Linked DNA regions of Homo sapiens: all the other regions are linked to region 1. Evidence: promoter capture Hi-C in human tissues and cell types (Jung and others, 2019). All regions are on one chromosome and are shown on one strand. The core of a region is centred on a gene start or on the middle of the fragment in contact, and the rest is flanking DNA. Distances in the headings are between cores, read along the strand shown.

Region 1 (2,700 bases), core at 106-2,605:
ATCCCTCCCCAGGAGTAGGGGTTCCAGGAAAAATCCCTTCTACCTAACGCTCCTGTGTTCAAAGAATGTCTAGTCTTGGGAGCGACCCACCAGGATTTTTATGTAACCTTAATAGATGTTGGCACCCTGCAGAGCCGCTCCTGGAGTCCAGATGTAGCCCATTTTCACCGTGATGGCAGCAGGCGGGGTCTTGCAGCTTCCCGGGGCCTGACTCTTCTGACTGTGGGGCCTCTGTCCCCCTCCCCTACCTGGCTGCGATTCTCTGCTTATCTCATCTTCCCGAGGACTTGGGCCTCCTTTTTGCAGCCTCCCTCCCTCCACTGAAATCAGTCCTAACATCAAGCAGGCAGCAACGCCATTCCACCAGCACCTTCCTTCCTCTCCCACCCCTCACCCTTTCCCCCCACCAAACGCCTTAAGAAACCCGGCCAGGAAAGTGATCCAGAATCTCGTACAGTCATAGTCCCTGAAAACAAACACGGCGGGAGGGGCAGGCCGACCAGGCCCAGCACTTTCCCTGGACCCGGGAGCAGCCCTGAACTCGGCGCAGGGGAGGGGAGGGAAGAGATCTCCGGAGACCGACTGCGGTTCGGCTGCCTCCAGCACAATCAGAGCAAACACCTGTTTCCAGGAAGACAGGCGGCCAGAGGGAGAAGGGAGTCCCGGGGAAAGGCAGGGAGGACGAAGCGAAGGGGCAGCCGGGGACGCAGGTAAAGGATGCGTCACACTTTGCGCTTGGCAACCGGAGCCCGGAGCAGAAGGCGGCGAGTGAGAAGAGCTCCGGGGTCTGGGAAGTTAGGGAGGAGGGGTCGCGCCTGCGAGCGGCGCCTGGAGGGAGCTGGTGCAGGGGAAAGGACTGAGGCAAGGAGGACTGGAGGCTGGGCGGGCTCCATCACCTGCGCGCCCCTGCGGATGCAGCCTCGCGGGCGCGCACCGACAGCGGTGCCCGCGGGTGACCTACCTGCCCACCGTCTGGTTGGCCAGCTGGCGCATGCGATTGAACTGCTTCTTCATCGTGGCCCCGCTGCCGCGCTAGCCCGGGAGCTGGGGAAGGACGGAGCAGCCCGGAGCCCGCCGCAGGGTTACATGGCTCCCGCGCGGAGCCTCCCGGGCGACGGCGGCGGCACTGCGGAGCCTCCGGGCGCCGTCTGGCCCGCGCGCAGCTCCCTCCCGAGGGCGCCGCCGCCTACTCCTCCCGCCGCGCCGCCTCCTGCCGCATCCCCCTCACGCGCGCCGCGCAATGCCCGGGGCAGAGCAATGCCTGGGGCCGTCCTCGGCACCGGCCCGCTCCGCCCGGGCTGCCTGCTCCCAGTCCCAGTCCGGCGCGGGGACCCGGGAGTCTCCGCAGGCTGGCTGGCCGGCTGGCCCGGCGGTCCCCGTGCGCCTGTGCGGAGAACGCCGTGCATGCCGGGACTTGTAGTTTCGCGCCCCGTGCCCACCTTTCCTCTGTCCAAAGTTTGCAAGGACAGTGGAGTGCGGAGGTGGGAGAAGGCAGCGTCACCAGCAGCTTTGCACTTTAGCGTTCGAGTAAGGGAAACGTTTTCCTGTTTTAAAAATGGCAAAGTGGGACCAAGAATACAACAGCAAATAAAGAAAGTGAGCATCTGTCTCTCATTGTATTTTTAGTGAATGTGAGGTATCAGTGTTCTGAATTCACAGAAGGGAGATTTATGCTAGCAGATACGTGGCTGATAAAACGGTCTAAGGTCACCTGATTAATGATGAGGTTCAAGGTTAAGCTTGAAACACAGGGGCTGACAGCAGATTTTGAACAGGCATAGCTTGCATCCCAGAAGTCTGATTCTTAATTTTTACCAAACCAAACCCATTAGGTAACCAGAAGCCAATATAGATAAGTGACGTTGTGCTTACTGGCCCAACCTGTCTGAGACAGCTTTTTTGTATGGCTTAGATGCCAATCTCGTATCTAGTCCCATTTCCCTTCCACCACCAGGAGACCAAGGGGCATCAGCTGCAGCACCCCCCAAGTGTCCTGCACCACAGCATCCCATTGGCGTCAGTTGACTCCTTGGAAGGGGTTGTGGCTTCTTTGGTCTCTATCCTTAGAAAAAGATAGGTGAGCCGGGCGCGGTGGCTCACGCTTGTAATCCCAACAGTTTGGGAGGCCAAGGAGGGTGGATCACGAGGTCAGGAGTTCGACACCAGCCTGGCCAACACAGTGAAACCCTGTCTCTGCTAAAAATACAAAAATTAGCTGGGCGTGGTGGCGGGCACCTGTAATCCCAGCTACTTGGGAGGCTGAGGCAGGAGAATAGCTTGAACCTGGGAGGTGGAGGTTGCAGTGAGTGGAGATCGCGCCATTGCACGCCAGCCTGGGTGACAGAGCTAGACTCCATCTCAAAAAACAAAAAAAAAAGAAAAGAAAAAAAAGAAAAAGATTGGTGATTGCAGTTAGGTTTTATCATTATATATCAAGGTTTTATCATTATATATCAAGTAAAAGCAGTATTGTTGGGTGTGAGGCACTTTGGATTAAACAGATAGGAGTTCCTGCATCAGAATTCCACATACCTGTTATATAACCTTAGGAAAACAGCTTAACCTCTCCAAACCTCTGTTTCCTCATCCCTAAATAGAAAAATATGCTGCCTGATCTTCAGTAAGAGAACTATTTGTTAAATTACAATAATCAAATTACATATAAATTTTCATATAGTACATTGCCGTATTCATTTACTA
Region 2 (2,700 bases), core at 45-2,544, 530 kb after region 1:
ATATATGTAACTCCACCACCATTATATATATGTGATATATATATAATTCCACCATTTATATATGTGATAAATATAATTTAACCATCGTCAATATATATAGTGATATATACATGATACGTACTATAGAGATATCACATGTGTAATATATACAAGATATCACGTGTGATATATACGATAGAGATATCACATGTGTGATATATACGATAGATATGTGTGCTATATATGAGATATGTGTGATATATATGATAGAGATATATGTGTGATATCTATGATAGAGATATCAGGTGTGATATATATGATAGAGATATCATGTGTGATATATATGATACAGATATGTGTGATATATATGATAGAGATGTGTGATATATGATAGAGATATGTGTGATGATAGATATATGTGTGATATATATGCTAGATATCATGTGTGATATATATGCTAGAAATATCATGTGTGATATATATGCTAGAGATATCATGTGTGATATATGCTAGATATCATGTGTGATATATATGCTAGAGATATATGTGTGATATGATAGATATGTGTGATATATATGATAGATATCATGTGTGATATATGATAGATATGTGTGATATATATGATAGAGATATGTGTGATATATATGATAGAGCTATCATGTGAGATATATATATGTGTGATATATGATAGAGATATCATGTGTGATATATATGTGTGATATATGATAGATATGTATGATATATATGATAGAGATATGTGTGATATATGATAGAGCTATCATGTGAGATATATATGATAGCGATATCTGTGATATGATAGAGATATCATGTGTGATATATGATAGACATGTGTGATATATGAGAGATATATGTGTGATATATATGATAGAGATGTGTGATATATGATAGAGATATCACACGTGTGATATATATGATAGAGATCACACATGTGAGATATGATAGAGATATCACACGTGAGATATATGAGATATCACACGTGTGAGATATATGATAGAGATATCACACGTGAGATATACACATCACACATGTGATATATGAGATATCACACGTGAGATATATATCACACGTGTGAGATATGATAGATATCACACGTGTGAGACATATGATAGATATCACACGTGTGAGACATATGATAGATATCACACGTGAGCTATGAGATATCACACGTGTGATATGATAGATATCACACGTGTGAGATATATGACAGATATCACGTGTGATGAGATATCACACGTGTGAGATATGATAGAGATATCACATGTGTGATATGAGATATCACGTGTGAGATATATGAGATCATGTGTGAGATACAATAGAGATATCATGTGTGAGATATATGATACAGATATGTGTGATATGAGATATCATGTGTGATATATATGGTAGAGATATATGTGACATGACATACATATCACACATATCTGAATAGGATATATATGAGATATATATATATAATATTCTGCCACATGTATATGGTGAGCCATGGAAGTCTGCGTAGCTAGGCATATATGTGATATATATGAAAAAGGAAGAAAATTCTGACACGTTACAATATGTGTCGGCTTTGAGGACCTTATGCTAAATTAAATCAGTCACAAAACAAAAAATACTGTATGATTCCACTTATAGGATGTATTTAGAGTGGTCAAATTATTAGACAGAAACTAGAAAGGTGGTTGCCAGGGACCGAGAATAGGGCAAATGCAGACTTAGTGTTTCCTGGGCACAGAGTTTCAGTTTGGGAAGATAAAAAAGCTCTGGAGATGGATGGTGCTGATGGCTGCAGACCACCATTAGGTACATTATGAATGTACTTAATACCACTGAACTGGACCCTTTTGAGATGATACATTTTATGTTATTTGTATTTCAACACAATTTTAATTTTTTTGTGTTGGGTTCAGAAATAAAAATAATTTGAGATCAGGAACAGCAGAAAAGACATCACAGATGAATACATATTTGGGTAGCTTGACTGGACCTCCAAAGTCAAGTAGAAGTCCAGCAGGTGGGGGTGTTATGGAGCCACACATTCCAGGAAGAGGAATTGCAGGAGAGGGTGAAGCTTGCTTGGGGACGCCTGGAAGTCTGTGTAGCTGGTGCCAACAGTCTGCATGAAGAACTGATGGAAGAAAAGAATGGAAAGATGCACCAAAGAGAGTGTGCAGCCAGGCACAGTGGCTCAGGCCTGTAATCCCAGCACTTTGGGAGGCCAAGGCAGGCGGATCTCCTGAGGTCAGGAGTTTGAGACCAGCCTGGCCAACATGGTGGAACCCCATCTCTACTAAAAATACAAAAATTAGCTGGGCATGGTGGCATGCGCCTATAATCCTAGCTACTCAGGAGGCTGAGGCAGGAGAATCGCTTGAACCCAGGAGGCAGAGGTTGCAGTTAGCCGAGATCATGCCATTGCACTCCAGCCTGGGCAACAAGAGCAAAACTCCGTCTCAAAAAAAAGGAACAAAAAAAGAGAGAGAGAGAGAAAGAGTGTGTGCAAAATCTTTCATGGCAGGAGTCTGGGCTTTCCTCTCTGAACTAGATGTCACTCAGTTCCCCGAGGCACCCGTGGGCCCTCACATCTCTTAAAGGAGTCACACTTCAGTTTGGCTTAAGAGAGAATCTGAGTCAGCCTTAAGTGGAAAATGCTGCTACCTCAACTAAGACACAGCAGAGACCTTGCTTGGCTCTTAGCTTCCCGCT
Region 3 (2,700 bases), core at 198-2,697, 600 kb after region 1:
GAAACAGAACATGCATCTCCTGCATCTGGGGGTAAAACCTTACAGAGAATTCTATGGGCTGCAATAAATAATTCCTGGTCTTCCTGGAAAGGAGCTCTGTGAACAGACAGGGTAGGGTCACTGCAGATTTATGACTGCATCCTTGAGGTAGCAGGCTATCCACAGCCCAGGGCAGAGGCCTACAAGACAGGTAGGAGGTCCAAGGAAGCCATGTTGCAAAAGGACAGTTGGCCCTAGGGCTGTGACACCTGGCACCTCAAAAGCCATGTGACAGATGTTTTCATTTCCTAGCCTTTTTTACTGCTACTTCCACTGCCAGAAAAAGAACTTGAGTTTTATTGAAATGTGAGTGTGTTTGCCGACAGTCATTCAAGCCTGATACCAAGGACACTGAGAAAAGCTTCTATTATGGTGAATAAAACTTCTGGCTACTCAGCATGCCCAGAAGTTGGCCTCAGATGAACTGTATCCTGGGGGAAGACTGACTCCCCATCTGCCTTCTCCTCACTCATGTTTCTCATTTTCCATTGCATTCATCTGTCTCTTGGCTTTCTTACTCTCCCTTTCTCTCATTCTCTTTCTTTCCCTCTCTTCCCCTGCTTAATTTTGCTATGAAAACCTCCTTCTTCTACATAGTCTTGGGTAGATTACCTTACCTCTGAGGCTCTTAGTTTTCTCACCTGCAAAATAATGGTGTTAGACCAAGTGTTTCTCAAACTTCAATGCCTAATGATTCATCTGAAGATGTTAAAATATAGATTCTGATTTAGTAGGCCTGGCCTAGGGCCCAATATTCTGCATCTCTAAAAAAAACTCCCAGGTGATTGCAACGTGGGCCACACTTTAAGTAGGGGGAACTATGGATGGCAAAGAATCCTCACCTGCAGTGCCGTCTCTAACAGTATTGGGAATACCAGGATGCATCTGACCTCAGTGCGGGGGGAAATGAACGTGAACCATGCATTCAAATTGAGCACATTAAATATTTGCCCTTAATGGAATAAATCATCTCTAAGCATGCTTACAATTCAGTGCTCTAAAACATCTGTGGTTTTCTTCCACAAGGGGCACATCTCAAAACCTGTCCATGTATGAAAGAGTCTGATGACCTCATTGGCTGTGTGTTAATGACAGACTATTCTTCAACACCTTAAAAAAACAAGGAGAACAGGAATAATAAAGGTAAAGGTCAACAAAGCACAGGACAAAGAAAATTATAAACAACTAACAAAACAAGAAGTTGGTTTATAGAAAAGGCTCATAAAGATAAAACTTGGAAAGAATGATCAAGGGACAAAAAAGAAGGTGTAAATAAACACAATAGAGAATATAAATGGAGAAATAACTATAGACACAAAGGATGTTTTAATAATTTAAAGGAATATTATGAACAAGTAAACACCAACAAATGTCAAAACCCAGAAGCAATGAATGAACAATTTTAAAAGTACAAAATGCAAAAAAAATTAATACAAATGAATAGAAAATGTATTTATACCAGTAATGCTTAAGAAATTTAGGAAGTAATAAAAAGACTTCTCTCTAAACCTCATATCCACACAAAGCCAGGTCTAGGTTTTACAGGTTTGCAACCAAACTTTCAAATAAAAACTAATCTTTATGTCAAACAAGTTGTGCCACACACACACACATACACACACACACACACACAAAGAAAACAGAAAAAGAAGGAAAGCTGTCTCACTCGTATGAAAAAAAGTATAACTTTGATAGTAAAACCATACAGGGGAAAATCAAAGAAAGAGGATTATAGGCCAATTTTACTTATGAATATAAATGAGAGTCCTAAATAAAATATTGACTACTACTAAAATCCAACATATATTTTAAAATAAGCCATCATAATCAGACTTTACCTCAGATATTAGGGGATGATTCAACATTAGAACATCTATAAATCTTATTCACAAAGATAAAGTAACAAAGAAAACTCAGAAGATTTTCTTAGTAGACAATGGAAAGCATTTTTATAAGTCAATACATTCTCATTTAAAACTCTTATAAAACAGGAATATAAAAGAGGTTCCTAAATTGATAAAGCCTACCTACAAAAACCCTATAGCAAACACACATAATGGACATGTTAGAAGATAGAAAAGAAAGCAGATATACTTGTTGTAATCACTACTTTTGCCAAGCTTTGAAAGGTCTTGTCTAATTCATTAAAATAAAAAAAAAAGAAAAAGTAAAAGATAGAAAAAAGTGAGAAAACTTGCAATTATTTAAAGACATAATTTTTTTAAATTGTTTAAAAATCTCAGCTTCCAGAAGACAGAATTATTTTTTATTTATTTATTTTTATTTTTTTGAGACAGGGTCTCTCTCTGTCGCTCAGGCTGGAGTGCAGTGGCATGATCTCTGCTTCACTACAACCTCTGCCTCCTGGGTTCAAGGGATTCTTGGGCCTCAGCCTCCCAAGCAGCTGGGATTATAGGCTTGTACCACCATACCTAGGTATTTTTTATATTTTTAGTAAAGATGGGGTTTCGCCATGTTGGCCAGGCTGGTCTTGAACTCCTGGCCTCAAGTGATCTGCCCACCTCGGCCTCCCAAAGTGCTGGGATTACAGGCATGAGCCACCGTGACTGGCCCAGAATGATTGTAAAAGTTGCAATTCTTTGAATTCATTTACTTAGAAATCTCAAAACAATCAAACTAATGAATGTTTGTTGAATTAAT
Region 4 (2,700 bases), core at 87-2,586, 540 kb after region 1:
ATGAAAATGGGGACACAGTCAAGCTGGCTCTCAACTTCAGGACTAAAGAGTTTGAATAAACATCCACTCTGTATTTGATAAACGCCATCTCTACTCTTCATTTTGGACAAACATAACATTGCTACTGTAAGAATGAACGGGCCGGGTACAGTGGCTCACGCCTGTAATTCCAGCACTCTGGGAGGCCGAGACAGGTCTATCACTTGAGGTCAGGAGTTCAAAACCAGCCTGGCCAACATAGCGAAACCCCGTTTCTACTAAAAATACAAAAATTAGCTGGGTGTGGTGGCATGTGCCTGTAATCCCAGCTACTCAGGAGGCTGAGGCAAGAGAATCACTTGAACCAGGAAGGCGGAAGCTGCAGTGAGTCGAGAAGGCACCACTGCACTCCAGCCTGGTGACAGAGCAAGACTCTGTCTCAAAAGAGAAAAAAAAAAAGAATAAACAAAGAAAAATCACTAAATAAAATGAAAATATCAATTCAAAAGAAGAGAACTAATAAGTTAAAAACATGTATTAGTCCATGAAATAAGAGAAAACTTTTAGGAAAATGTCTTGGCATTTCCAGTCTCATCAAAACTTCTGTTTCCAACTGCCTCTGAGTGGAATCTCAGTGAAAGTGAAGGGCAAATTGCATCTATAAAACTAGAGGAGAAACAGAAAAAAGTCTGAAATCAGGAAAAAGTCTGAAATCAGGAAAAAAATACCTGGAGATGGAAAATACAAACATCAAATTTTAAAACACAGTGGAGGTAATGAGCAGCATATTATGTACTGAAGACAATTAATCAGGGAATTAACACGAGCTCAAGACATTCTCCAAGGATTTGAAGCAAAGCACACACAGAAGTTTCAGCCAATGTACTAAGAAAAAGAAAAGTATAAACATGAAAACAAAGGAATGAATTATCATAATTTGAAAATTTCATAGTTGTAATCTTCCCAGAAATTACCATTGTTATAATTGTAATTTGCTCAAAAACATCTAAAAGCAAGAACTAAGACATTATTCAACTAATAAGATGAGTCAATTAAGTTGACTATTTACAAAGGCAAAAAAACTTAAAAACATGAAAAGCTAATTTAAAACCATGAAAGTTAAATTAACAGTAAACATACAAAATGTATCATCACTAGTTATCAAGTAAGTGCTTAATAAGACAATGGTGTAGTATTTATTATTTATAAATTAGTAAAAAATAATAATTTATCAGTTATTGCCAAGTATAGAGGGAAATGAGCCTTCTGACAAATAGGTGGTGGGAAGATAAATTTATACAACTTTTAGGCAATCTTTTTGTGTCTTAGAATTTTTGCATACATTTTGATCTGGCAACTCTACTTCCAGGAATTTATCATAAGGAAATAATCATGACTGTGCACAAAGATATAGCTACAATGGTTAACATTATAGTACTGCCAGTAATGGTGAATTATTGAAAATAATCTAAATTTCCAACAATAGGAGATTCATTAAATAGATTATGGTATAGCTATATGGTGGGATGATATATACCCATTAAGATAATGTAATAGAAAAAATAATAAAAGAAAACGTTTAAAATATGTAAAAGGGACTTTTAAAGTTATATTTTTTAAAATTCCATTTTATTTTAACATATCTATACATATAAAAAAGAGAGACTGGAACTGTGTACACCAAAGTGTTAAAGTCTAAATGATACAATCATGACTTTTGATTTCTTAATTTTTCTTTCTTGTGTTTTCTAAAAATTCTAAAATTAATATTAAGCAAATATTTTAGAAGCTATCTTAATACTTTTCCCTGAAGTCTCTCTCACAGTTGCAATTTCAAATTAAAATTGCAGATATGACAGAATTTTGAATACAGGATAATAATCTGGTTTCCCTCTAATTTGCAAGGTTTTACACATGTTCAAATAATATATACATGGAGGCATGAAAAGATCAAAGAATGTCAAAGATGTCAGCGTGAAAACATACATCTTTGTGCAGATTTGAACTTCTATATTTATAAAAAGTACAAAAAAAAGACTACAGATAAGAGATGATAGAACTTTTAAAGCTAGAGCCTTGCTGATTTTTCTTTTTTTCTGTATAAATATTAGCTGAATAAGCTGCTCAGTAAGGCCTCCGACCAGTGGAAGTTTCATAATTTGAAAATTGCATAGTTGTAATCTTCCCAGAAATTACCATTGTTATCATTGTAATTTGCTCAAAAAAACTGTAAAAACAAGAACTGTTTTCTGTTCCCAAGGTAAGTAAACTAACTGCCTCTGAGTAGAATCTCAATGAGAGTGAAGAGCAAATTGCATCTATAAAACTAGAGGAGAAACAGAAAAAAGTCTGAAATCAGGAAAAAAAAATACCTGGAGATGGAAAATATAAACATCAAATTTTACAAACATCTCATTTCTCTGCATTTTTCCTATGTTCCTTATCTACCCTGCCCCACCCTCACTCCATTTCTTCTGGAAGCCACCAAAGGTAGGGTGGCCTCTTGTCAGGTGTCCATCACTGCTTGCATGGAAGGAGGAAGGGATTTAAACCCACCTGGTTGGCACAGCTCCTTTGAGCTACACTGAATGTCTGTCACGAGAGGCAGCTGCTTCATCACCTACCTGTCCCTTCACTCACTCAACTGTGCACATACTTTTCTAAAGCAGGTGGTTTGGCTTTATGCAGTGTGGCCTCTGCCCTCTCTTGCATATCTCAAGA

The links. Contacts are between HindIII fragments. The study calls those that stand out against the background at their distance.
Region 2: a contact is called between a fragment that was not itself captured here and the fragment with the promoter of ARHGAP44 in region 1, in 2 of the 25 tissues and cell types used here (lymphoblastoid cells and mesendoderm cells).
Region 3: a fragment that was not itself captured here is called in contact with the fragment with the promoter of ARHGAP44 in region 1 in 4 of the 25 tissues and cell types used here (H1 embryonic stem cells, dorsolateral prefrontal cortex, mesendoderm cells and 1 more).
Region 4: a fragment that was not itself captured here is called in contact with the fragment with the promoter of ARHGAP44 in region 1 in 2 of the 25 tissues and cell types used here (bladder and mesenchymal stem cells).

What each region holds. Positions count from the first base shown.
Region 1 is chr17:12,788,153-12,790,852 of GRCh38, reverse strand. It overlaps ARHGAP44 (Rho GTPase activating protein 44), which reads right to left and starts at 1,355. Exons shown (of 21, transcript NM_014859.6): 1 at 962-1,355. The coding sequence starts at 1,014. ARHGAP44-AS1 (ARHGAP44 and MYOCD antisense RNA 1) reads left to right here and starts at 569. Exons shown (of 2, transcript NR_104607.1): 1 at 569-710. RefSeq lists a silencer at 1,079-1,428. The HindIII fragment of the contact is 5,339 bases long and covers 1-2,700 here.
Region 2 is chr17:12,260,094-12,262,793 of GRCh38, reverse strand. No RefSeq gene overlaps it. Among named protein-coding and RNA genes, the nearest start is that of MIR744, 180 kb to the right of the region's middle. The HindIII fragment of the contact is 8,212 bases long and covers 1-2,700 here.
Region 3 is chr17:12,190,792-12,193,491 of GRCh38, reverse strand. No RefSeq gene overlaps it. Among named protein-coding and RNA genes, the nearest start is that of MIR744, 110 kb to the right of the region's middle. The HindIII fragment of the contact is 4,684 bases long and covers 1-2,700 here.
Region 4 is chr17:12,243,393-12,246,092 of GRCh38, reverse strand. No RefSeq gene overlaps it. Among named protein-coding and RNA genes, the nearest start is that of MIR744, 160 kb to the right of the region's middle. The HindIII fragment of the contact is 3,829 bases long and covers 1-2,700 here.